6 separate regions of the Homo sapiens genome follow, and all the other regions are linked to region 5. The links are contacts of gene promoters, found by promoter capture Hi-C in blood cells and fetal thymus (Javierre and others, 2016). All regions are on one chromosome and are shown on one strand. Each heading gives the region's core, a stretch centred on a gene start or on the middle of the fragment in contact. The rest is flanking DNA. Distances are from core to core; before and after follow the strand shown.

Evidence for each region. Contacts are between HindIII fragments. The CHiCAGO score rates a contact against its expected background, and 5 or more counts as called.
Region 1: a contact is called between a fragment that was not itself captured here and the fragment with the promoter of NLRC4 in region 5, in 1 of 17 cell types (monocytes). The highest score is 6.3, in monocytes.
Region 2: a contact is called between a fragment that was not itself captured here and the fragment with the promoter of NLRC4 in region 5, in 1 of 17 cell types (M2 macrophages). The highest score is 9.0, in M2 macrophages.
Region 3: a fragment that was not itself captured here is called in contact with the fragment with the promoter of NLRC4 in region 5 in 1 of 17 cell types (monocytes); the score reaches 6.8 in monocytes.
Region 4: a contact is called between a fragment that was not itself captured here and the fragment with the promoter of NLRC4 in region 5, in 3 of 17 cell types (neutrophils, monocytes and M2 macrophages). The highest score is 6.1, in neutrophils.
Region 6: a contact is called between a fragment that was not itself captured here and the fragment with the promoter of NLRC4 in region 5, in 1 of 17 cell types (neutrophils). The highest score is 5.3, in neutrophils.

The regions. Positions count from the first base shown.
Region 1 is chr2:32,466,928-32,471,578 of GRCh38, forward strand. BIRC6 (baculoviral IAP repeat containing 6) reads left to right here. Exons shown (of 74, transcript NM_016252.4): 27 at 598-812; 28 at 976-1,184; 29 at 1,510-1,856; 30 at 2,468-2,687; 31 at 3,241-3,374; 32 at 4,087-4,197. Among named protein-coding and RNA genes, the nearest start is that of MIR558, 63 kb to the right of the region's middle. The HindIII fragment of the contact is 196 bases long and covers 3,302-3,497 here.
Region 2 is chr2:32,401,200-32,405,759 of GRCh38, forward strand. It overlaps BIRC6 (baculoviral IAP repeat containing 6), which reads left to right. Exons shown (of 74, transcript NM_016252.4): 7 at 1-186; 8 at 264-424. Among named protein-coding and RNA genes, the nearest start is that of BIRC6, 46 kb to the left of the region's middle. The HindIII fragment of the contact is 682 bases long and covers 1,461-2,142 here.
Region 3 is chr2:32,488,747-32,493,009 of GRCh38, forward strand. BIRC6 (baculoviral IAP repeat containing 6) reads left to right here. Exons shown (of 74, transcript NM_016252.4): 43 at 1,295-1,405; 44 at 2,679-2,812. Among named protein-coding and RNA genes, the nearest start is that of MIR558, 41 kb to the right of the region's middle. The HindIII fragment of the contact is 3,975 bases long and covers 10-3,984 here.
Region 4 is chr2:32,444,215-32,448,899 of GRCh38, forward strand. It overlaps BIRC6 (baculoviral IAP repeat containing 6), which reads left to right. Exons shown (of 74, transcript NM_016252.4): 21 at 1,307-1,454; 22 at 4,581-4,685. Among named protein-coding and RNA genes, the nearest start is that of MIR558, 86 kb to the right of the region's middle. RefSeq lists an enhancer at 3,051-3,628. The HindIII fragment of the contact is 4,466 bases long and covers 706-4,685 here.
Region 5 is chr2:32,263,341-32,267,904 of GRCh38, forward strand. It overlaps NLRC4 (NLR family CARD domain containing 4), which reads right to left and starts at 1,546. Exons shown (of 9, transcript NM_001199138.2): 1 at 1,398-1,546. The HindIII fragment of the contact is 10,627 bases long and covers 1,319-4,564 here.
Region 6 is chr2:32,122,416-32,126,926 of GRCh38, forward strand. The region is part of intron 7 of SPAST (spastin); the gene reads left to right. Among named protein-coding and RNA genes, the nearest start is that of SLC30A6-DT, 41 kb to the right of the region's middle. The HindIII fragment of the contact is 6,892 bases long and covers 1-4,511 here.

The DNA.
Region 1 (4,651 bases), core at 2,150-4,649, 210 kb after region 5:
GCTAGCTTGGTGAAACCCTGTCTCTACTAAAACTACAAAAAATTAGCCGGGCATGGCAGCGGGCGCCTGTAGTGCCAGCTACTTGGGATGCTGAGGCAGGAGAAAGGCGTGAACCCAGGAGGCGGAGCTTGCAGTGAGCAGAGATCGCGCCACTGCACTCCAGCCTGGGCGACAGATCGAGACTCCGTCTCAAAAAAAAAAAAAAAAAAGAGGGGTTTCGCTGTATTGCCCAGTGTGGAGTATAGTGGCTATTCACAGGTGCAGTAGCAGTCTAGTGTATTGCAGCCTGGAGCTCCTCGGCTCAAGCAATTCTCCTGTCTCAGGTCCCCCAGTAGCTGGGACTAGAGGCACTTGCCACTGTGCCCAGCTACTCTTAATTTTCTACTTACGTCTTGGGGTTCAAAACTAACACAGACTGGGATTTCAGAAAATTTTTGAATCAATTGACAAGGCCATTTTTACATATTTACTTTTCCTCTTATTTATAGTTTAGTGAGTTGCTTTCATATTTTAAGATGAGTGCTCCAAATTATTTTTGAGTGTATCATTTGGTTAATTGATATATTTTTGGTCAACTGTTTCTTCTTTCTCTCATAGGAGCAAGAAGATTTGTGACCTTGGATTTTGGGAGGCCTATATTGTTGACTGATGTATTGATTCCCACTTGTGGAGACTTGGCCTCTTTGTCAATTGACATTTGGACATTAGGAGAAGAGGTGGATGGAAGGCGGTTGGTAGTGGCAACTGATATAAGCACTCATTCACTAATTCTTCATGACTTAATACCACCTCCCGTGTGCAGATTCATGAAGGTAAAGAACTTTAAGAAAGTAAATTGATACGCTTTCTATGTTTCTGACAAGTTATGAAAAATGAATATATAATTAAAAAATATAACTATCTTTTTAAATACATTGCTCAGATTTTTATTGTGGCAGATGTGTATATATGTATATTTATAATTTTTCATTTCAGATCACTGTTATTGGACGTTACGGGAGTACAAATGCCAGAGCCAAAATCCCATTAGGATTTTACTATGGTCATACCTACATCTTGCCTTGGGAAAGTGAACTGAAGTTAATGCATGATCCTCTAAAGGGAGAGGGAGAATCTGCAAACCAGCCAGAAATTGACCAGCATTTAGCAATGATGGTTGCTTTGCAGGAGGATATACAGTGCAGGTTAGTACAGAGTGCAAATTTTAATGTTATTGAAACTTTGTATTTTATATAATGTCTTGCTTATAATTCTGTCAAGAAATGTCTTTTCATAGGTGTACAGATAAGAGAGCAAGAGGAAGTAGGAGATTAGCACGTTACAATAACACTTAATGCGTGAAAATATTGTGATTAATTAATGGGCTCCATTTATTAGTACCTATCAAGTGGGTAATTCTTTTTAATGGTTGTATGTTAACAGGTTTAAGAGATTTAATTCTTAGTATTTGTACATGTACATAAAGAGGACATTACAAGAATTATTTTGTTCAATCTTTTTTTACTTTAGGTATAACTTGGCTTGTCATCGTCTGGAAACCCTTTTGCAAAGTATTGATCTTCCTCCTCTAAACAGTGCTAACAATGCACAGTACTTTTTACGAAAACCAGATAAGGCAGTTGAGGAAGACAGTAGGGTTTTTTCTGCTTATCAAGATTGTATTCAGCTACAGCTTCAACTAAATTTGGCTCATAATGCAGTGCAGAGGCTCAAAGTGGCGCTAGGTGCAAGCCGGAAGATGTTGAGTGAAACATCAAATCCAGAAGATTTAATTCAGACATCTTCCACAGAGCAGTTACGTACTATCATCAGATATTTACTGGACACTTTGCTCAGCCTGCTTCATGCTTCTAATGGTTTGTATTTGGCTTACATATTTTAAAGGCTGGGAATATACTTGATGTGATTTCGCTGCATGTTTTAGGATCTGTGTCAATATTTTCTATTGTAAATTTTGGTATTTTAAAAAATGTCAGTATTTATGAAATGTCTCTTTAGGTTAATCTATTTCTCCCTGTTATTTTAAACATTTCTTAAATGAAGTTGTGTGTGTTTTTTTTGGGTTTCTGGTATTGACATGCACATCATTGTGCTACTGGCAAAGTATTAAGTATTGCATTGAAGTTGAACAGTGAAACTTTTCATAAATTGCTAACCTAATATAGAGCTATCATTTTCTAGCCAGGAGGTATTTTTGATCATTACACGAGCTCACACATTCACTGACACAGCCATCTGACACATCCAGCTCCATAGGCAAGAAATGTAATTTACTTAAGTGCTAAATATTTTCGTCTCCAAGTATGTAACAGATTTCTACATACAAGGAGTAAATACATTGCAGAATAAATAGAATATAATTATCTACTGATTACTAGAAAAGAGGAAAGTGTATTTAGGCATGCGTATTTTAATATTATACAATACATTTAAATAGGAAAGTTTACTGTTTTCTTTCTTGTAATAGGACACTCTGTTCCTGCAGTTTTGCAGAGCACATTTCATGCCCAGGCCTGTGAAGAGCTCTTTAAACACTTGTGCATCAGTGGAACCCCAAAGATACGGTTACATACTGGTCTTCTTCTTGTTCAACTGTGTGGTGGTGAAAGGTGGTGGGGTCAATTTCTTTCTAATGTCCTTCAGGAATTGTACAATTCGGAACAGCTTCTCATCTTTCCACAGGATAGGTAGGTCAGAAAATGTTGGAGGTATTTGTTATTAATGATGTGTACTTTTCACAGTTACTGGTTAGCTTTTGAAATCTTTGAAATGTGGATACTAAGTTGTGAATATGAAGCAGATCTCAGAGTTTGTGAAATGACCAGTGAAGGGCACCAGCACTGTGTATCGAAGAAGATAATAAGTGATAATTAGAGTCTACTCTTTAGTTTTCTAATTGAACTTGTGGACTTCATAGATCTGTGTTTATAAGTATTTCTATTAGATTATGTTGCTTTATATGCTAAATGTGTTTGTTTGTGGCTAATAAAATTCTCTCATTCACTAAGTGCTTGATTTCTTGTTAATAACATTAGAAAATGTAACCAGTAGTTAGAAAAAAAACTAATTTTAGCTTCATACCTCCAGATACAAATCTTGCTTTCCCAGTCTGAAATATGGTATGTTTTAAGAAAGCAAATATTCTATCATTACTCTGTTAAATTTCTATGTAAATTATTTTAAAAATTGAACAATCGAATTGATTCTTATTCTTTTCTTTTTTGTTTGTTTTGTTTTTAGGGTCTTCATGTTACTTTCCTGCATTGGTCAAAGATCACTTAGTAATAGTGGAGTATTAGAAAGCTTACTTAATCTCTTGGATAATTTATTGTCACCTCTTCAGCCACAGTTACCCATGCATAGGAGGACAGAAGGTATTAAGAGAAAGCAGTGTTCTTTAGTAAAAACAATATTCCTGCAAATATTTCTTTTATAAAATATCTTCTCTGAAATACTTTAATAATTATTTGCAGCACATTTAATATTTTTATGATGTAAGCTTTTAAGAATGAGCAACCCTCATGTGATTGACTGCCATATAGTTAATACTTTTAAAATTTATTCCTTTTCATTATTTGAACTTAGTATAGTATGTTTTTCCTGTACTATTATAACTAAAGTCAAACTCCCTTACATAAGTTTGAGCTGTAAGGCACAGTTGTTGTTCCCATCAACAATAATGAGTTTTGTTTGAACACACTTTTTTATAGGAATAAAAACATTAGAACCTAGTTTAGTGCTATATGAATTATAAGTTGAGAGTTAGATGTTTTATTTCAGTTCCTGTGAATCTAAGAATAGTATCTTATACCTTGCTTTCTAGTTTATATAGTCCATTTTGGATTCAGCCTGCACTTAATCTGTTCTTATACCTTGAAGTCTTTGTCTTTCATTAGATTTGATGTTCTACTCAGTTTCTGGCTGTTGGTGTCTATTTTTTAGACTTATTACATATAAATATTAGTGTTAGTAATGATAAGATATGTTTTGGATTTATAGAATGTTTTGTTTCACTTATATTATCAGATCTAATTAGGAATCCTAAAGTCATCTGGATGTTTTTCCTTTGCTGTCATCTCTCTCCAGGAGTACTAGATATTCCCATGATCAGTTGGGTTGTTATGCTGGTGTCCAGGTTGCTGGATTATGTGGCAACTGTTGAAGATGAAGCAGCAGCTGCAAAGAAACCTTTGAATGGTAAAGACAGGGAGAGGTTTCTGACAGGTATCAGAAGTTTATAATAATATGTTGGTGGGGATTTTGAGTGACTTCGCAGTTGTTCCAGAACTGGCTATTGGCCTGGAGCTACCAGCTGTATGTAATTTAAGGAAAATACAAATGAACTTCACTACAATTCTGTTTAAAGATAACATTTATACTTGGTGGACTTTATAGACAAGCTCCTTTGTCTGGACATGACTTTTAGTTTCTAAATGCAGCTATGACTTTTGCAAGGTGTCTTCCCTCAGGCTTGTTTAAAGACTTTATAATAGCATGCATGTAAGTGAGTTATGAAAGGGAAATCAGAGTTTTTATTTTTTCTTAGTATGATGTGTCATTTCATTTAGCATTATTGGTATCTACTAATTAACTACAAATGGCCTGTATTTTTAAATACAGAAATTCTCAGATTTTGAGTTGTAAGCTTTCT
Region 2 (4,560 bases), core at 552-3,051, 140 kb after region 5:
GTGAAAGGTGAGCACACACAGAATGTGCCATTGTCAGTCACTCTTGCAACAAGTCCTGCACAGTTTCCTTGTACGGATGGAACTGACAGAATATCTTGCTTTGGGTCGGGGAGCTGCCCTCATTTTCTAGCTGCTGCAACTAAACGAGGAAAGATCTGCATATGGGATGTTTCCAAACTTATGAAGGTATGTTTGAATTTTGAAGTAACAAATTAGTAATTGAAAAAAGATCAGTTGTAAACTTAGGCTTTTCATTTGTTTAGGTGCACTTAAAGTTTGAAATTAATGCCTATGATCCAGCAATTGTACAACAGCTTATTCTATCAGGAGACCCAAGCTCAGGAGTTGATTCAAGGAGACCAACTTTGGCGTGGCTGGAGGACTCCTCTAGTTGCTCAGATATACCAAAATTGGAAGGAGATAGGTATGTGAGTTTGTTTTAGTAGTATTTAATAGATGTTACATGTTTTCCTAAATTTTATATTCTCATAGTTCTAATAATTAAAGAGGAGGAAAAAAAAGTTACGCAGTTAAGAGATCAGAGAGTAAATGTTTGGTTAGAAATCTGAAATCTGTGATTCTTGAAGAAAAATCTTCATTCAGAAACACCGTAGTTTATAAAATATGCTTAACTTTCTATCACAATCTATGTCAATTGGAAATAATTGCCACATTGAACAATAGATGATGAAAAGTCAACATTGGAAAGTCTAAATAATGAAATGAAATTCTATTGTAGTTTCACCTTCTGCTAAATCTTTTCATAGAGCATTCGAACTAGATGATTTCAGTTTCCGTTTTTTCATTAGCACCTCAAATTATGGCAGTGCTAATGAATAATAATAATGGGATGACCTGAGGTGAGGCAAGAGGATCTAATTGTTTAAAACAGTGTACCAGTAGTCAGCAGTGAGTTGAGATACCATAATTATTGCTATAGAAATATTTTGGTAAAATTGCTGTTCTGGATTCTCCTTCACTCAACTTCTCTGAGAGATTCCTGATTTTTGTGGTGGGGTGGGAGAGTCAAAGTATCACCCTCTTTCACCCACTTGTTTCCTAAGAACCACTGTGGTTTTGACTGAACTGGGCTAGTAAGATTCTGTAGGTGGAGGGGAAGAAGATTGTGTAGGCAGCCATGTGAAATGGAGCTATTTAACTGTGATCAGATGTCTTGATAGACTGAGAATATCTGCCATTTCACTTCCAGGGGCTCCTTATGTTACTGACATGTGATGGGTGTTACTCTGTAGTCAGTGATTTATCATTTTACTTCACAACCCCTTTGGTGGGATGTCCTTTCATTAAGGAATAATGTAAAGTTTTATTAATGGAAATTATTTCATTAATGGAATTAGTGGAAAATTTACAATATATGTGTTACTTCTGTCTAGTTCCTCTTGGTAATAACATGTTGATTAAAGCCTTGTGGTTGTTCTATTAATATAAATCTCTGTGAAAGCTTAATGGGAAAGCAGCTTAACTGTTGTCTGAGTTTCTGACCATATTTTGCCAATAGGACTAGATATTAAGCATGCTTAATTTCTGTGATTTCTTAGAAGTTAGTGGAAAAGTAATAGAAGATAATGAAATTTATATGTCCTTCTAGGCACTTACTTTAATTTGAACTTTGTCTTGAAGTTTTGTAATTTGGGGATTAAAAATGGAATCAAAATATACTTCTAGGATTACATACACCCATACACATATAGTCACACCCTCCTAGGTAAAATCTGCATTTTAGATAAACATGTATTCTGTATTATTAGTGGAAATACTTCTCAACATTATATGGGGTAATGTGCTTGAGTTGAGGTAATCTCTACTTGCTTTTAAGAAATTCACAATCTAGGGTCGAAGGTCAATTTTCTCTGAAGAAAGTCTCAAACAAATCATACAAAAACATTAAGTTGATGTGGTAGGAGGAAGCTGAAGAGGTGAAACTTCATCCCTAACCTTAAGCCCCCTCTCTTCACTTCCCCTCCCCAAGAAGTAGGAGCAGTCCTGTTGGAATTGATAGTGAATATAATGAGCCACACTACCTCTCACTTTATGTGACACAAGATCCAATATGTTTGGTTATAAAATATACTATGTGGGTTTCATTAGCTTGAAGAATAATACATTAATTGGAAAAATCTAAGCTTATCCAAGAAGTTTAAAGTAATTAGCAATATAGTTTGCTTAGAATAGTTTTTGTAAAATTTGTTTTTATTTCTTATTTACATTGAAGGACTAAGGAATTGTTTTTGACAATTTTTTCTTAGAAGACTATATTTGTCTTCTGAATTAAGGAAGAAGATATGCTAATACATTTAATTTTAATGAATTAAGATTTCTTCTAGATGATTCACTTGTCATTTGTATATCAGGTCAAGTTGGTAAAAATTCCTTGAATGTAAATGAAATTGTTTATGGGATTGCTGTAAACCAAGGTACTGTTACAATATTAGTATGTCTGTTTTTCAGAAACACATATAATCTTAACTAAACATTTTTACTTTAACCATAATATTTATTTTGCATGTTTATTGCTTTGTAAAAGGTTTTGCAAAATGTAGAAGGCTTTAGTAAATACAGTGCCTATTATATAAATAGTGCATGCTTATTGCAGGAAAATGGGAAAATGCAGGAGTGGAAATTGATGAAATATAGAGTAGTCATAATCACACTATGGGATTATGGTAACATTTATATGTATTCTAGTTTCTTTTTAAAATGTGTGTGTGTTTTTTTTTTTTTTTTGGAGACAGAGTCTCACCCTGTCGCCCAGGTTAGAGTGCAGTGGCGCAATCTTGGCTCACAGCAACCTCTGCCTCCCAGGTTCAAATGATTTTTCTGCCTTAGCCTCCTTGAGTAGCTGGGACTACAGGTGCCCACGACCCCTCCTGGCTAATTTTTTGTATTTTTAGTAGAGAAAGGGTTTCTCCATGTTGGCCAGGCTGTTCTCGAACTCCGGACCTCAGATGATCCACCTGCCTTGGCCTCCCAGAGTGCTGGGATTACAGGCGTGAGCACCACGCCCAGCCGCATGTGATTTTTTAAAAAGTTTTATTGAAGTGTAATTTTCAAACCATACAATTCATGTAAGTGTACAATTTAGTTATTTTATTCATATAATTTTTTTTCTTTTTTTTTGAGAGAGTCTTGCTCTGTCGCCCATGCTGGAGTGCAGTGGTGCGATCCTGGTTCACTGCAATCTCTGCCTCCCAGGTTCAAGTGATTCTTGTGCCTCAGTCTCCTGAGTAGCTGGGACTGACCCGTGCCACCATGCCTGGGTAAATTTTGTATTTTTAGTAGAGACGGGTTTCACCATGTTGGCCAGGCTGGTCTCAAACTCCGGGCCTCACGTGATGTGCCTGCTTCAGCCTCCAAAAGTGCTGGGATTATAGGTGTGAGCCACTGCATCTGGCCTTAGCCATAAAATGTTTTTGTCACAAAATATTTTAAAAGAATGTGATTTTACAAATATATATATATAATTTTTTTTTTTCTCTTGAAACAAGGTCTTGCTCTGTCACCCGGGCTCACGGCTCACTGCACCCTTTACCTCCTGGGCTCAAGTCATCCTTCTACCTCAGCCTTCTAAGTAGCTGGGACTAAAGGCATGTACCACCATGCCCAGCTAATTTTTTATTTTTTTGTGGAGATGGGGTCTCACTGTGTTGCCCAGGCTGGTCTCGAATTCCTGGGCTCAAGCAGTCCTCCCTCCTTGTCCTCCCAAAGTGCTGGGATTACAGGTGTGAGTCACTGTGCCTGTTGCCTGATTATATTTTTGAGAACTTTCAGAATAAAACATTCTTTGCTAATTTAAGGCTTTTATCTGGCAACTGTCTTTGAAATATCAAGACACCTGAATTCCTTTAAAACATACTACTACTTAATTTTATTGTTCATCTTAGTACAGCAGGTTAATACTTGGTTATTTATTTTTCTTTAATGGGCAGCCATTCTATACTTAAAACCTGTTTTCTTGGTTTGGACTTCTTCATTCTTGATAATTCCCAATTATTAATATTTCTTCTTGGGATTCATTTTTACACTTACTCTGTTTCTCTGAAACCAGCCAATTAGGCTAATGAATTAGCAGCTGATTTTAAACTTTTTTTGCATTTTTTGCTTTTGTAAATTACAGCATTAAATTGGTTTATGGGCAACTGTTATCACCTGAAAAAACTAAAACAGAGAAACTTTTTCAAAAATATATAAGTGAATTTCCCCCAGCCGCCGCAAAATATTTCAAACATTGCCTTGGAGTGCAGTAATATCCTTAAGCATTTTCAGTGCGGAATACCACTTCATATTCTGTATAAAATAACATCGTAGGCCAGGTGCGGTGGCTTATGTTTGTAATCCCAGCACTTTGGGAGACCGAGGCGGGAGGATCACAAGGTCAGGAGATAGAGACAAGACTTTGTCTTGTCTTGATGACCCCCATCTTCTGAGTTGTCATAGTTTTCCTATATGTAAAGGAGTTCTTAGCCTCTCCAAAACAAAATACAGAACAAAAATAAAATTGCATGTACATGTGAGTACACAAACATACACACTTGCTTATAC
Region 3 (4,263 bases), core at 747-3,246, 230 kb after region 5:
TAAATAGCAAGCTTAAAACGTAATTATTAGGTTAAAATATACCTAATCTTTGTCATTAGGGGTTATAACATTCTAGTGGGGAAAAAACAGAATACCTTTTTAAAAAGATGCACTAACTTACCGATTAGCAGGAAAGATACAGGGAGACCTTGTTGAGAATAGAAGACTCCTACTCTCTGGTCTGTGGTATGCCTGTATGCAACTAAAATTTACAATGTTCTGTTACTCCTTTATATTTTCTTGAAGTTTTGTCTGATCTGTAAAAGCAGGTCAGTTTTTTATTATTTTTTTTTTTCATTTTTTAAAACTATGAGTTAGCCCCTGGAGGAGTTAGTCAGCTGGAGAAGGTGGTCAGTTTCCTGTGGAAGTTGTGTGTGTTTCTTGGCAAAATATGAGTATGGGAATGGTGGTAGTAAAATAATACAACAGGAAAAGAATTAGCGTTCAGCTCTAGCTACAGGAATCTATTTTAGTTATATTTAAAGAAAAATAAAAATGAGAATCTGTTCCTGATGCTTTCTCTCTATAGTGAGGCATCCTGTAGCTTGCTTGGGTCTTACATGGTGTATTTTCCAATGTGAGTGCCAGCTCCACTGAGTCACGCACAGATTCTACTTACATCTGCACTGTCTCAGCACCAGCCAGCCCTTCTTTAATTTATAGGTTTCCATCTCTTCAACTATATTATTATTATAATAAAATTTGTTTTCATCTGTTTTTAATTTTATTATGAGAAATATTAAATATATATAAAAAATAAAAGAGTAAAAAATAGTTATTCCTGGCTGGGCACAGTGGCTCACACCTGTAAAACCAGCACTTTGAGAGGCCGAGGTGGGCAGATCCCTTGAGGGCAGGAATTTTAGACCAGCCTGGCCAACATGGTGAAAAAAATACAAAAATTAGCCGGCTGTGTTGACGCATGCCTATAATACCAGTTTTTCCAGTATCTGTTACTGTTTTCAGTTGCCAGTTTTGTAGAGTGTGAGGATTTTTAGTAAATTGTATTGAAGTAGAAATGCCTATGGTTTGGAAAGTACAACATACTGAGAGTGATAACATGTCATTTCAGGTGTTGTGGGCTGAGCTTTAAACCTTATCCTAAAATGTTACTGATTCTTAATGCGTTAGTTGTATTTAATGGAGAATTCCTTTTATTTGCATGTTTTGAAGACACTGGTTAAGGAGCGGATTTAAAGAAATAGTGTCTTGTTTTTAAATTTATTCTTTTGACTTAGTTCTTCATAAACATTGTTTTTCTGAAAAATATTTTCCCTTTCTCTTTTCTGCATAGCATCAATAACTAGCTTTCTCACAGTGTTAGCTTGGTATCCCAATACTTTGCTCCGGACATGGTGCCTTGTGCTTCATAGCCTAACACTCATGACAAACATGCAGCTTAATTGTAAGTTCATAAATTTATTCATTTAAATCTCTGACATATACTTTAGTGTTCTACTATTGGATTCTTAAAACAGAGTTTTCCAAGGAGTGGTATACTTGTCAAAGTGGTTGAGTTGGCCAGATGTGGTGGCTCACGCCTGTAAACCCAGCACTTTGGGAGGCCAGCACGGGTGGATCACTTGAGGTCAGGAGCTCGAGAGCAGCCTGGCCAACATGGTGAAACCTTATCTCTACTAAAAATACAAAAGTTAGTGGGCGCCTGTAGTCCCAGCTACTTGGGAGGGTGACGCACGAAAATCACTTGAACCTGGAAGGCGAAGTTTGCAGTGAGCTTAGATCACGCCACTGCACACCAGCCTAGGTGACAGAGTGAGACTCTGTCTCCAATAAAAGTGACTGAGTTTTTTCTTCTAACATGTCTCTTCTGAATTAGTTCTTATATATCCTTTGTGCTTGTTTACTTTGATAATATAGTCTCATATGTCTCGTTGGATGTTCAAATCATATTTTTTACCTTTTAAAAACTGATTAAAAGAAAATTGATTGCTTTTAGAGTACAAAGGCAGGTTTTTACATTTCATCTAAGTTTTTATGTTATTCTTTTAAGATACCTTTGTACTTAAAAATGATTTATTCATTATTATATTCATAAACATGCATAACTAGATTCCTGGGTTTTGTTTAATAATTTAAATCATTGCTTAGCTTTAAAATGCTATTATCTTTTTTCATTTGGAATGTATTTTCCAAAAATGAGATCAAAAGCATCACTGTGATACTGAAGGTGGATTTCATGCAAAGGATATTTTATTCATCTCAGAAAACTGTTGTGTTACCTGTACGTTAGTTCACAGTTAACCTGTATACAACTAACATGCAAAAAGGAATAATTTTGCTACAACTTATTTTAGAAAACTTGATTAAAGTTTACCTGAAAAGTAGATCTCTGACTGTTTCTGGAAGGGGGAGTTAGTTAGAATAGGCTTTCCAAATAAGAGTCAGGACCTAGTTATATCTTTTCTGTTTGACTGTACTAAATAAGATGTACATTAAGCTCGAGGTGTTTTCAGAATCAGAAGGGGGCAGAAGAGATAGATGGTAGATAGAGAGGGAAGTCCTGCTTAGTCAATATAGTAGAAACTGAAACCCCTTTAATAAACTGTAATTACTAGGAATGTATGAATTTTCCTTGGAACTAAAAGATGCTTTCAGATACTGCATTTCCATTATTTCATGGTCCATTTCTTAAGAGGTTTTTAAAAAATGTTTTATAGCTGGTTCCAGCAGTGCCATTGGAACTCAGGAGAGTACTGCTCATTTGTTGGTTTCAGATCCAAACCTAATTCATGTATTAGTGAAATTTCTTTCTGGCACCAGTCCACATGGAACAAATCAACACAGTCCACAGGTAATATGATGTTTAGCCTGGCATATGCCCAGACTATTCAATAAACAGTATTCGTAATGTAAAGCTATGTAACTTTTTTATTGCTAAAGTATTAAATAATAGCCTTTTATGTATCAATATAATAAAAAAGGTTTTGTTATTTGTAATAATAGCTATACTGACACTAAATAATAGCAGGTGGTAAGTTAACCTCTTAGAACAGTGATACTAGGTTTTCATATAGATACATATTTTTGGCATTAATTTTGGATAATTGGAAACATTCTGAGTAAATACTGCAAAGGTAGAGAAGCATTTCAAAAATTTTGGAATCAATAAATTTTAATATGTCATATTTGATTACTTCTACTATCAAGATTATCAATTCACCTTAATCATTTTATGATGTTAATGATTTTGCTTAGCAAAAGATAACAATATTGCTCAGGACTTATAAACATTTTCTGTTTCACTGTAAATTTTCCTTTATATCAATTTAATTTCTTGTTATGTTGTACTGCTTCTGTGTAAATATTTGTACTTCATTATATTTCTTTTAAAGTAAAAATATATTTAGCATTTATAACATCTTTTAAAATCAAGATTATTCAAGATTATCTTGCAAGTTTATCATTTTAAACTTCTTGGATTTGCCGTCAGATAAATTCTAATTTAGTTGTCCTCAACAGCCCAGTTTCTCTATTAATTCACTTATTCAGTGTTTAGGAGGCTTCTGTGTGCTTGTTCTAGGTACTAGACATACAGTATTTACCAAGATCAAATATCTGCCTTCATAGAGCTTTAGTTAATACTCTAATACTTAATATATTTTAATTTTACAGATCTTAATAAAATAAATGAGACAAGGAACAAGTAAGAGAGAAGAAACTAACTTACAGTTAGATTGGGACAGGGTTTTGGTAGGGGCAGAGACATGTTATCAAGTGATTATTGTACTTAAAGATTGATTGAATTTCAAACAGGAAGACTCCTCGGGATCACCAATTCTGACTTAATTGTTTTACATGTAAGAAAACATGCATCAGCTATATTGCCCCAAATTACATAACTAGTTATCTGTATAGCTAGGTATCAGTGAACAAGGCATTGCAAAAAATAATATTTTCTTTCTGTTTTTGAATAAAAGAAAGGAGGAAATAACTTTTTAAAACTTTTTAAGTTACTGAAGATCAAGCTTTCCTACTGATACCTTGGTTTTATATAGGAAGTTCTGATACGAAAGCTATAATTTGTATGCTCAGTATCAGAAATTAACTTTATTTAACTCTAAAATAGTTTGGAGGATTATATTGTATTTTATTTTTCCAGAACTACTCCAAGGTTTTATGAGTTGTTCATCAAATCAAATTAGGATCAAATAAAATAATATGTAGAAGTGTTAGAGCACACTTCTACCTCAGGTTACTTAATGTAGTGTTCACTATCATTTCTTTCATTGATGAATTAGAAGT
Region 4 (4,685 bases), core at 1,689-4,188, 180 kb after region 5:
AGCACAGTAGGGTGACTGTAATTTGTGGTATATTTCAGAATAGTTAAAAGATTTAAAGTGTTCCCAATGCAGAGAGGTGATGGATATCCTAAATACCCTGGTTTGATCATTGTGCATTGCATCCATATTTCAAAACATCACATATACCCCCTATATATGTGCAATTATTATGTATCAAAAAAGAATGAAGGTAGTTATCAAGTAGGAATTCATAAAGCAGTTCTCTAAAATAGCACATATATAAGGTAATGAAGATTTTTAAAGATTCTTACTGTTTTTGCTAGTACATGGTGTTACTATGAAGGGCTACTAACTTGGCCTTTTAAGCCAAATTTTATTTATTGATAGACATTTTTCACAATCTGTTTTATTAAAAAACAAACCATTCAGGCTGGGCACAGTGGCTCACACTTGTAATCCCAGCACTTCGGGAGGCCATGGAGGGAGGATTGCTTGAGGCCAGGAGTTTAAAAAAACAACCCATTCAACAAGTTACCTCAGTGAGTTATATATTTCATAAAGATTTCATCTTTGTGTTAAACAAAAAAAATGCTTGTTTAGAGTTGTTGAAAAGTTATATCATTTTCTTAATTTAGGTAAAGCGTGTTTATATTTACATTGAACATATTTTGGCTACAACCATTAACTCTATGGAATAGAACATTTTGACTCAGTTGCTCATTACGATAGTCTCTAATGTTTAAAAGCTTCTTAAGGATAGTTTTAAAGTTGGGACGCTTAAGTTTTGGCATGTATGTAGCAGTTAATAAAAGTAAAAATACACTGTCATGATAATCTTTTAAGCAATGTCGATCTGTACCTAACGCATTATAGAATAATTTTATTCCCCATTCATTCACTAAAATGGGCTGTTTGAAGCTCACTGCCATCCACTATTTTTTAAAGTTTAGTACAGAGAAACAGTATGTTGGTAAGGATGATTTGAAGGACCTTCAGTCTCCTCACTTTTTCAGCTATTTCGAAGTGTCCCTCAGAGGCATCTCACATTATTATACACCTAAATAAATACACATTATTATACACCTAAATGACTTTATAAAACTCTCCAGAAATATTTGAAATTCTTAGTGTAAGACTGTGCCTCAGTGTGTTGTTTATATTTTAAGTGTCCTCTTTGATCCCTCCAAGGAGTTATCTTTGTAAATTGCCTATAAGATTGTCTTTCCAGAAAAGGGAGTATCTTTCTAGCAAAAGGAAGTATTCTGATAAATAGGTAATCTTAAATTCTCATTGTTAGAGGAAAAGGAGGAAAAAGAAACATTTATTTTGTTTTTATTGTTTCCAGGTTCTGTCTATTGGTATTTTGTCTTACTGAATTATGTGAAAGATGAAGATCTGGCTGGATGCAGTACAGCTTGTGCATCTTTGCTTACTGCAGTGTCCAGACAGTTACAGGACAGGCTAACACCAATGGAGGCTTTACTTCAGACAAGGTATTTTAGTATATCTAATGACTAATAATAGGCGTCTCTGAGTATGATCACGCTTTTGCAGAGAACTGTTATTTAATATATATATGCTGATAACAGTCTTTTTCTTACAAAAATGTTTAGTTTATACCTTACTTTTTCCATACGATAATAGCCTGAGGTTTTACTTTCTTCTGTTTTGTCAGAAATTACTCTTTTTTTTTTTTATCGAGATGGAGTTTTGTTCTTGTTGCCCAGGCTGGAGTGCAATGGTGTGATCTCAGCTCACCACAACCTCCATCTCCCGGGTTCAAGCGATTCTCCTGCCTCAGCCTCCCGAGTAGCTGGGATTACAGGCATGCACCACAGGCCTGGCTAATTTTGTATGTTTAGTAGAGACGGGGTTTCTTCATGTTGGTCAGGCTGTTCGCAAACTCCCAACCTCAGTTGATCCGCCCGCCTCAGCCTCCCAAAGTGCTGGGATTACAGGCATGAGCCACCGTGCCCGGCCAGAAATTACTCTTTAACAGTTTGATAAATCCTTATGATGGTTATTCAGAGGGCTAATTTTATTTAATAATGAAAAGTGGTATGCCCTGCTAATGGAAGAAGAATGTAATGTGTCTGTTTCTCTGTGCACTTTATAGGTGGAATTATGTGAGTCACTTATTGTCCCATAACTAGTATTCTTCTACCTGCTACTTGTATTTCAAAACTTCTAACGTGATGAATTAAGCAATAGCAAAAGGTTAGATTTAAGTTCTTGCCTGATTGTCTACGTTTGAAGTAAGGCGTTCCTTTATTTAGAGCAGTGATTTTATAATTTCCTAGGTTAGATGTTCTGATTTTGATGACATTTTACTCAAAGCCTTTGTACTTGAGGCTATGTCGTAATGATTCACGGGAGAGAATGGTGCCTGATACCCCTCGCTTCAATCTGCAGGTGGCAGTCTTAGTACCTTAGTTGCCAGCTTATTGGAATCACATTTGTTGAGTCTCTGGACAGTGTCTTTTAGAGTATAGATTGCAGGGAACATAGTTGAGATTCACTGAATTTGATGGGTCAAATCTAGTCAGCATCTCCCTCTGCGCTGTTTTTTTTTTTTTTTTTTTTTTTTTTTTTTTTTATTGATCATTCTTGGGTGTTTCTCGCAGAAGGGGATTTGGCAGGGTCATAGGACAATAGTGGAGGGAAGGTCAGCAGATAAACAAGTGAACAAAGGTCTCTGGTTTTCCTAGGCAGAGGACCCTGCGGCCTTCCGCAGTGTTTGTGTCCCTGGGTACTTAAGATTAGGGAGTGGTGATGACTCTTAACGAGCATGCTGCCTTCAAGCATCTGTTTAACAAAGCACATCTTGCACCGCCCTTAATCCATTTAACCCTGAGTGGACACAGCACATGTTTCAGAGAGCACAGGGTTGGGGATAAGGTCACAGATCAACAGGATCCCAAGGCAGGAGAATTTTTCTTAGTACAGAACAAAATGAAAAGTCTCCCATGTCTACCTCTATCCACACAGACCCGGCAACCATCCGATTTCTCAATTTTTTCCCCACCCTTCCCGCCTTTCTATTCCACAAAACCGCCATTGTCATCATGGCCCATCCCCAATGAGCCGCTGGGCACACCTCCCAGACGGGGTCGTGGCCGGGCAGAGGGGCTCCTCACTTCCCAGTAGGGGCGGCCGGGCAGAAGCGCCCCTCACCTCCCGGATGGGGCGGCTGGCCGGGCGGGGGGCTGATCCCCCCACCTCCCTCCCGGACGGGGCGGCTGGCCGGGCGGGGGGCTGACCCCCCACCTCCCTCCCGGACTGGGCGGCTGGCCGGGCGGGGGGCTGATCCCCCCACCTCCCTCCCGGACGGGGCGGCTGGCCGGGCAGAGGGGTCCTCACTTCCCAGTAGGGGCGGCCGGGCAGAGGCGCCCCTCACCTCCCGGACGGGGCGGCTGGCCAGGCGGGGGGCTGATCCCCCCACCTCCCTCCCGGACGGCGCGGCTGGCCGGGCAGGGGGCTGACCCCCCCTCCCCCCTCCCGGACTGGGCGGCTGGCCGGGCGGGGGGCTGACCCCCCCCACCTCCCTCCTGGTCGGGGCGACTGGCCGGGCAGAGGGGCTCTTCACTTCCCAGTAGGGGCGGCCGGGCATAGGAGCCCCTCACCTCCCGGACGGGGCCGCTCGCCGGGCGGGCCCCCCTATCCCCCCACCTCCCTCCCGGACGGGGTCGCTGCCGGGCGGAGACGCTCCTCACTTCCCAGACGGGGTGGCTGCTGGACGGAGGGGCTCCTCACTTCTCAGACGGGGCGGTTGCCAGGCAGAGGGTTTCCTCACTTCTCAGACGGGGCGGCCGGGCAGAGGCGCTCCTCACATCCCAGACAGGGCGGCGGGGCAGAGGTGCTCCCCACCTCTCAGACGATGGGCGGCCGGGCAAAGACGCTCCTCACTTCCTAAATGGGATGGCGGCGGGGAATAGGCGCTCCTCGCTTCCTAGATGGGATGGCGGCCGGGCAAAAACGCTCCTCACTTTCCAGACTGGGCAGCCAGGCAGAGGGGCTCCTCATATCCCAGACGATGGGCGGCCAGGCAGAGACGCTCCTCACTTCCCAGACGGGGTGGCGGCCGGGCAGAGGCTGCAATCTCGGCTCTTTGGGAGGCCAAGGCAGGCGGCTGGGAGGTGGTTGTAGCGAGCCGAGATCACGCCACTGCACTCCAGCCTTGGCACCATTGAGCACTGAGTGAACGAGACTCCGTCTGCAATCCCGGCACCTCGGGAGGCCGAGGCTGGCGGATCACTCGCGGTTAGGAGCTGGAGACCAGCCCGGCCAACACAGCAAAACCCCGTCTCCACCAAAAAAAACCGAAAACCAGTCAGGCGTGGCGACGCGCGCCTGCAATGGCAGGCACTCGGCAGGCTGAGGCAGGAGAATCAGGCAGGGAGGTTGCAGTGAGCCGAGATCGCAGCAGTACAGTCCAGCTTCGGCTCGGCATCAGAGGGAGACCGTGGAAGGGGACCGTGGAGAGGGGAGAGGGGAGAGGGGAGAGGGGAGAGGGAGAGCCCTCTGCGCTGTTAGTCAGACTGCTTTTAAAACTAAGTAAAGGTAATTTGTTAATTAGATGGCTGAAAGGAAAATTGTTAGTGCATTATTTTATTTTTCAGATATGGATTATATAGCTCACCATTTGATCCAGTCCTCTTTGATTTGGAGATGAGTGGCTCTTCTTGTAAAAATGTTTATAACAGCAGCATTGGTGTCCAGTCAGA
Region 5 (4,564 bases), core at 296-2,795:
TGGACTATTGTGAAGATTAAACATGAAAGTAGTTGTGACAAAGATGGTCAGTGGGTATTATCTGTCTTCCTTTCTAGTAAAAAGGCTCTAGACTAGAATGTTCTTAGGTCTTTAATAGGCTTCAGCAATCTCACATGTTAATATTAGTGTTATGTGCTGAACTGGGCTTCCCCCAAATCCATATGTTGAAGCCCTGAACCTCAGAATGTGACTGTATTTGCAGACAGAGCCTTTAAAGAGGTCATTAAGCTCAAATGAGGCTGTTATGAGAAGAGGAAATCGGGACACACAAAGGGAGATACCAGGAATGTGCATACAGAGAGAAAAGGCCAAGGAGGGAGGCGTGGGGAGAAGCCAACCCTGCTGACACCTTGGTCTTGGACTTGCAGCCTCCAGAACTGTGGGAATATAAATTTCTGTTGTTTAAGCCACCCAGTCTATGGTATTTTAAACACATTAATACGACTAATATTATAAAAGTGTGTGAACAGTTAAGAAGTGTGCTGACCAGGTTCTATCCTAGTTTTGTAGACAATTAGCAGTGTGATGTAGGGCAGGACATTTAACTCCTCTCTACCACATTTTCCACCTCTCAAAGCCAGGCTGCAAGGATCTACTGAGATAATGTACATAAAGACCCTATCACGAAATAGGTGTCCCGTAAAGGGTGATTTCCTTCACTTCTGTCTCCAAATATCAGGTTTCTCATCAGTAACTTGGGAGATTGGATGGACTAAGTAGTCCACCTCGTTCCTTTCAGCTTTGATCATCTGTGATTCTAACAACAGTCTTAGCAACAAGAGTGAGTTTCCTGGCCGGGCACGTTGGCTCACACCTGTAATCCCAGCACTTTGGGAGGCTGAGGTGGGCAGATCACGAGGTCAGGAGTTGAGACCAGTCTGGCCAACATGGTGAAACCCTGTCTCTACTAAAAATACAAAAATTAGCTGGGGCGCGGTGCCGGGTGCCTGTAATCCCAGCTACTTGGGAGGCTGAGGCAGGAGAATTGCTTGAACCCAGGAGGCAGAGGTTGCAGTGAGCCGAGATCACGCCACTGCAGTCCAGCCTGGGTGACAGAGCAAGACTCTGTCTCAAAAAAAAAAAAAAAAAAAGAGTGAGTTTCCTTTCTGTAATGCCAAAAAGTGTTTCCAAAGTCCTTTCCATCTCACAGTAGTCCAAGGGGTACATGTACCCCTTGAACCTGATGAAGCCCCAGCAGACCCGATTAACCACCCCTAAAGGTTTCTCGGCAGGCAAATCCAGCCAGGCATGCAAATCACACTCGTCAATGTTAAGGCTTTTGTACATCCCAGACACAAGCTTTAAATGAATGTAAACCCAGATTTTAATATTTGGGCCCCAGACCTTAAAAATCCCATTCTCTCTACCCACAGTACCTGGCTGAGCAATCCAATTGCCCTCTTCTTGGGAGACCAAGACATGTTTTTAAAATAAAGTTTCTTTGTATTTGCTTTCCGTTTCAGTGAGGCCTCGAGTTCTTGTAGACCAGATACCTTCTTGTTCTGTGAGAGGACAGTGTACAGAGAGGGGAACTGCTGAGCAGTTCCTTTTTTTTTTTTCAAAGCACAGTAAGAGTGGTTTGGACACAAGTACTACCAGTTCAGAAAGGGAAGATGGGTGTAGGCAGGAGTAGCCGGGGAAGAAGTAGAACTTCAGAGTAAAAGATGCAAGAGCTAGAAATTCCGTCAAGAAAGGAATTACTCATTTGTTTCCTGTTTGTTCACAACATATGAATTCATTGCTGTTGAGTTACTTATTCTATACCTTAAAATGAAACAAAGTCTTCTGAACATCCAACATATATTTTTTTTCTTTTTCTTTCTTTTTTCTTTTTTTTGAGACAGAGTCTTGTTCTGTCACCCAAGCTGGAGGGCAGTGGCACAATCTCAGCTCACTGCAACCTCTGCCTCCCGGGTTCAAGCGTTCCTCCCGCCTCAGTCCTCCCAGTAGCTAAGACTACAGGCGTGCACCACCATGCCCGGCTAATTTTTGTATTTTTAGTAGAGACAGAATTTCACCATGTTGGCCAGGCTGGTCTCGAACTCCTGACCTCAGGCAATCTGCCAGCCTCAGCCTCCCAAAGTGCTGGGATTACAGGCGTGAGCCACCATGCCCAGCCACAACATGTATTTTTAATGCTTAACCATGGGAGATAGAGCGGTAAATGAAATGAGCCAGCTTAGTTGGCTAAAGCACATTGCTACTGCATTCAAGGTCATGCTTACCCCTGTACCTTGAATCCCAGAGGACTTCCAGCAGATGTGTTCTCTCAGTCAGCAGGGTTCTGGGCAAGGTCACACAGGGCAAACAGATCACCAGTTTTGGTCCACTCCACCGATGACGCACGGGGACACCCTCCGGAGTATAAACAGCCAGGGGCTTGCACAGGCACACTCACATTGGACGTTTGTGTTCACAGACTCCAGGAGGCCAGCTTATACTCAGCTGAGGACTGAAGAAATCTCTCTGCACTTCCCTTGAGGATGACATTCTTGCATACTCTTTCCTCTGTCTTTGCATAAACTACCAGGAACATGTCTTTGTGTTACATAACTTCTTATTTCAAAAAGAGCATTCTGACAGTAGCCTATCTGCCATAGAGGGATACCAAAGTTTCCCGGCAAATAAATGTCTACATCCTGGGTTTTCTAAGGGGGCATCAGTGTCAGTGTTTCCCAACTTGTGAGGTGGGTTTCTCTGAAGTGAGATTGAGGGCTACACTATCAGCTAGATTTTTAAATTGTAATGAAACCTATATATAAACATATGTTCAAGAGAAAAAACTGCAAAGACAGCCACCAAAATAGTAATGATGCTTATTGCTGGGGAATACAATTATAAGCAATTTTAAATTTCTGTCTTTGGCTTATCTGTATATTCTAATTTTATTTATCAACTTATTTATTTTTTATTTTATTTGTTTATTTATTTATTTATTTATTTATTTGAGACAGAGTCTCGTTCTGTTGCCCAGGCTGGAGTGGAGTGCAGTGGCTCAATCTTGGCTCACTGCAACCTCTGCCTCCCAGGCTCAAGCAATTCTTGTGCCTCAGCCTCTCAAGTAGCTGGGATTTCAGGTGTGGGCCACCACCATGGCTAATTTTTTGTATTTTTAGTAGAGACAGGGTTTTGCTATGTTGGCCAAGCTGGTCTTGAGCTCTTGGTCTCCAGTGATCCACCTGTGTTGTCCTCCTAAAGTAATGGGATTACAGGCGGGAGCCACCATGCCCAACCTGTATATTCTAATTCTTCATAGCAAACACCTATTACTTTTGTACTAATAAATGATGTAATATAGAATAAAAAGGGAAAATGTAGAAATATGGTTGTAGTAGGCTGAATAGTGGCTACCCAAATATCCCAAATCCTAATCCCTGGGAACTGTAAATATTGTGTCTTTCCAGATATGTTCCATTTAAGGCTCTGAAGATGGGGAGAGAATTCTGGATGATCCAGGTGGGCCCTTAATAATGGTCCCTTATTACAGAGAGCCAGAGGGAGATTTGAAACTGACAGGAGAAGTCAGTAAGACCATGAATGCAGAGATTCGAGTAATACGGCTACGAGCCAAAAGATGCCAGCAGCCACCTGCAGCTGGAAGAGGCATAAATGGATTCTCCCCTAAAGCTCCCAGGAGTGTGGCCCTGCTGACACCCTGATTTCAGCCCCATGATACTGATGTTGGACTGGTCCTCAGAACTGTGAAAGAATAAATTTCTGTTGTTTTAAACCACCCAGTTTATGATATTTTGTTACAGCAACCACAGTAGACTAATACAGTAGTATTTCATAGTAAAATAAGCAAAATTATATCCATATTCATTCAAGTACATCTTCTGGGCTGCCTCACCAGTTTCCTTTGTGAGTGGATTTGCAGTCAGGTGTTTTCAGGGCATTTCAAATAGGTAATTAACTAGTAACTTCGGCATCCTACGTTCCAACAGTTACGTCCCCTGCCCTTATGTTCTTCCTCCCAGTCTCTCCCAACGCTTATTATCCTAGGAGTGTGGTAAAGTGGAAATGCCCAGAGCTCTGGAGCCAAGTAGACCTGAGTTCAAGTCTGGGTTCCTTCCTGTGACTAATACAAGTCACCTTAGCTTCTTAGCAGTGCAATGATGGTTCCCCAAGTTGCCCCAGGGTTGTTGTGAATATCAGCTGAGATGCCATCTGTGAAGTACCACATGGCACTAACTATTCTGTGACTTTAAGCATATGTAGCTACTCATGCTTTTAACTCCCAGTTTAATGCGGAGGGAAGGAAAAAGTCACGATACTTTTCTTCCTAGAGGCCTGTAACTCATAACTCCAAAAATAATTATTCTGGAATTCTGTTAGTCTTCTGCTTACATATTTAGTGGCAGGGAAGTCACTGGGCCAAATCAGGCAGGCAGCTTCCTAATATGCCTTAATAAAGAGGGGTCAATTTTTTTTTTTTTTTTTTTTTGAGACGGATTCTCACTTTGTCACCCAGGCTGGAGAGCAGTGGCTGCAATCTCAGCTCACTGCAACCTCCACCTCCTGGGTTCAAGCGATTCTCCTGCCT
Region 6 (4,511 bases), core at 2,012-4,511, 140 kb before region 5:
GGTTCAAGCAATTCTCATGCCTCAGCCTCCCAAGTAGCTGGGATTATAGGCATGCACCACCACGCCTGGCTAATTTTTGTATTTTTAGTAGAGACGGGGTTTTGCCATGTTGACCAGTCTAGTCTCGAACTCCTGACCTCAGGTGATCCACCTGCCTTGGCCTCCCAAAGTGCTGGGATTACAGGTATGAGCCACCACACCTGGGCTGAAATTACTGTTTTTATAGGTCAAAAACAGTTGAGGGATAGGCATGGTGGCTCCCACCTATAATCCCAGCACTTTCAGAGGCCAAGGCAGGAAGATTGCTTGAGTCCAGGAGTTCGACACCAGCCTGGGCAATGTAGTGAAACCCCATCTATATTTAAAAAAAAAAAATAGATGAATATCTTTGTTTGCAGATAACATGATTGCATATGTAGAAAATCCCAAAGAACCAACAAAAAGAGCTCCTAGAACTAATAAGTGATTATGACAAGGTGTAGAATACAAAGTTAATATACAAAGTCAATTGCTTTTTTATCTACCAGCAGTGAACAACTGGAATTTGAAATTAAAACACAATACTGCTGGGTGCAGTGGCTCACACCTGTAATCCCAGCACTTTGGGAGGCCGAGGTGGGCAGATCACCTGATGTCAGGGGTTCAAGACCAGCCTGACCAATATGGTGAAACCCCATCTCTACTAAAAATACAAAAATTAGCTGGGCATGGTGGCGGGTGCCTGTAATCTCAGCTACTCAGGAGGCTGAGGCAGGAGAATCGCTTGAACCCAGGAGGCAGAGGTTGCAGTGAGCCAAGATCGCGCCATTGCACTCCAGCCTGGGGGACAGAGCAAGACTCCGTCTCAAAAAAAAAAACACAATACCTTTCATATTAACACTAATAAAATGAAATATGTGTAGTTCTAACAAAGTTTGTTGTAGAAGATCTATATGAGAAGAATTATAGCACTCATGAAAGAAATCAAAGATCTAAGTAAACTGAGAGATATTCCATGTAAATGGACAGGGAGACTAAATATTATTGAGATGTCAGTTCTTCCCAAGTTCATATATCGATTCAGTGCAGTCCCAGTCAAACCCCAGCCAGTTATTTTGTGGATACTGGCAAACTAAAGTTTATATGAAAAGGCAAAAGACCTAGAACAGCCAACACAGTATTGAAGAAGAAAAAAGTCAGAGGACTGAAACTACCCAATTTCAAGACTTACTGTAAAGCTACATTAATCAAGACAGCATGTCATTGGCAAAAGAATAGACAAATAAATCAGTAGAATTGGACAGAGAGCCTAGAAATCAACCCACACAGATAAAGTCAACTGATCTTTGGCAAAGGGACAAAGACAATTCAGTGGAGAAAAGATAGCCTTTTCAACAAATGGTATAGGACAACTGGACATCCACATGCAAAAAAGTTAATCTAGACACAGACCTGACAACTTTCACAAAAATAAATGGATCATAGACCTAAATGTAACATGCGAACTGAAACTTCTAGAGGATAACATAGGAGAAAATCTAGGATAACATGAGAAAAATTTTTGGTTTGGCAGTGACTTCTTAGGTACAATACCAAAACATGATCCTTGAAAAAAAAAATCAGTATGTTGAACTTTGTTTAAATTATAAACTTCTGCTCTGTGTAAGATGCTGTTAGGAGAATGAAAAGACATGCAGCAGAGTGGGAGACTTTACAAAATTCATTATCTGATGAAGGACCAGTATCCAAAATATACAAAGAACTTTTAAAACTCAACAATAAGAAAATATACAACCCAGTTAATAAATGGGCAAAATATCTGAACAGACACCTCACCAAGGAAGATAGATAGATGACAACAAGCATATGAATATATGCTCAACATCATGTCGTTAGGGAAATTGCGCATTAAAACAACAACAAGATACCCTGCCATCCCTATTAGAATGGCTGAAATCTAAAACACTGACAACACCAAATTCTGGCAGGGATGTGGAGCAGCAGAAACTTTAATTCATTGCTGATGGAAATCTAAAATGGTAGAACCATTTTGGAAGGTAGTTGGACAGTTTTTTACAGAACTAAAGACAGTTTGACAGTTTCTTACAAAACTCTTACCATATGGTCCAGCAGTCTTACTCCTTAGTATTTACCCAAATAAGTTTAAAATGTACATCCAATAAAAAAAACTGCACATGAATATTTCTAGCAGCATTATTCATAGTTGCCAAAACTTGGAAGCAGTCAAGGCATCCATAAGTAGGGGAATGGATAAACAGACTTTGGTATATCATGTAATGGAGTATTATTCAGCAATAAAAAGAAATGATCTATCAAGCCACAAAAATATATGGAGGAACCATAAATGCATATTGCTAAATGAAAGAAGCCAGTCTGAAGAGGCTACACTATAGGATTCTGACTATATGATGTTTTGGAAAAGGCAAAACTATGGAAACAGTAAATAGATCAGTGGTTGCCAAGGGAGACAGGGAGAGATGAATAGGTGGAGCACAGTGGATTTTTAAGGCAGTGAAACTGTTCTTTATGATAATCCAATGGTGGATACATGTCATTATACCTTTGTCAAAACCCACAGAATATAAAACATAAGAGTGAACCCTAATGTAAAATATGGACTTCAGTTAATAATAATATATGAATATTTTTTCATTAGTTCTAACAAGTGTACTACACTAATACAAGATATTCAGAGTAGGGGAAATTGGAAAGGAATGAGAGGTTATATGGGAACTCTGTACTTTCTGCTCAATTTTCTGTAAACCTAAAATCACTAAAAAAAAAGTTTATTTTTATTTTTATTTTTTTTTAATTTTTAATTTTTTGAGATGGAGTTTCACTCTTGTTGCCCAGGCTGGAATACAATGGCACGATCTCGGCTCACTGAAACCTCCGCCTCCAGGGTTCAAGCGATTCTCATGCCTCAACCTCCCGAGTAGCTGAGATTACAGGCATGTGCCACCACGCCCAGCTAATTTTGCAGTTTTAGTAGAGACAGGGTTTCTCCATGTTGGTCAGGCTGGTCTTGAACTCCTGATCTCAGGGGATCTGCCCGCCTCGGCCTCCCAAAGTGCTGTGATTATAGGCGTGAGCCACTGCGCCCAGCAGGTTTTTTTTTTTAAGTTGGATATTAGCCATTTCATATGATTCAACTTAAAAGTACATACACCTTCACTGTTATTAAAGTGTAGGTGAGATGTTTTCAGTCTGGAGCTCTACCCTTGATTCCTGCCATGCCTAGTGTCCCTGAATCTGGAGACTCTGACTTATTTCTTTAGAGAACGAAACTCCTGCCTTCTGCTTTGGTGGTGATTGGTACCTGCTTGACTGCCTTTGGTGGGGAGTTCCTCATACCAACTTTCAATCAGTTCCTGTGTTTGTTTGTTTGTTTGTTTTTGAGACGGAGTTTTGCTCTGTCGCCCGGGTTGGAGTGCAGTGGCGCAATCTTGGCTCAATACACGCTCCGCCTCCCGGGTTCACGCCATTTTCCTGCCTCAGCCTCCTGAGTAGCTGGGACGACAGGCACCCGCCACCACGCCCGGCTAATTTTTTTGTATTTTTAGTAGAGACGGGGTTTCATCGTGTTAGCCAGGATGGTCTCGATCTCCTGACCTCGTGATCCGCCCGCCTTGGCCTCCCAAAGTGCTGGGATTACAGGCGTGAGCCACTGTAAGCCACCGTGCCCGGCCAGTTCCTCTGTTTTTGACTGCCTGCCTTACTACTGCTTTCTGTGGTGCCTGATAACATCCAATTCCTGAACCTTCCTGGGATTTTTGTTCACGTCAGCGTGCTTCTTGCATTTAGGTATCCCTTCACAAGTAGGCATTTAGGTTTTAAGCTCTGCTAAGTGATTTACCACACTTTATCAGTTCTCCATTTTGTGGAATTCATTGTGTTAATCTCCTTTTCTATTTTTGTTTGGAAGATTCATATATTTTTTATTCATTTAGTATTTTTTGGTGGGATTTCTAAGTAGAGAAACATGCCTATGTTCAATATGTCTTGTTTAAGCAGTCTGCTTTCATTTTTACCACCGAGGAGTTGGTTTTATTTCTTTTTTTTTTTTTTTTTTTTTTTTTTTTTGAGACAGGGTCTCACTTTGTCAGCCAGGCTGGAGTACAGTGGCACAATCAAAGCTCACTGCACCCTTGGCCTCCCAAGCTCAAGTGATCCTCCCACCTCAGCCTCCTGAATAGCTGGGAGCTCAGGTGATCCAGCACACCCAGCTAATTTTTTTTTTTTTTAATTTTTTGTAGAAGCAGAGTTCCCCTATGTTGCCCAAGCTGGTCTTGAACTCTTGGGCTCATGTAATCCTCCTGTCTTTGCCCCCTAAAGTCTGGGATTACAGGTGTGAGCCACCACACCCAGCTGTTTTTAATTATTACATTAATTTATGATTATGTGTTTCCTTTAAAGCTATGGGCAGCTCTGTTTGGGAAGATGCTACTGAAAAAAGGATGCTTTTTAGATGGCAAAGAGTACTTAAAATGTCTCTAGAATCATAGTTGTAA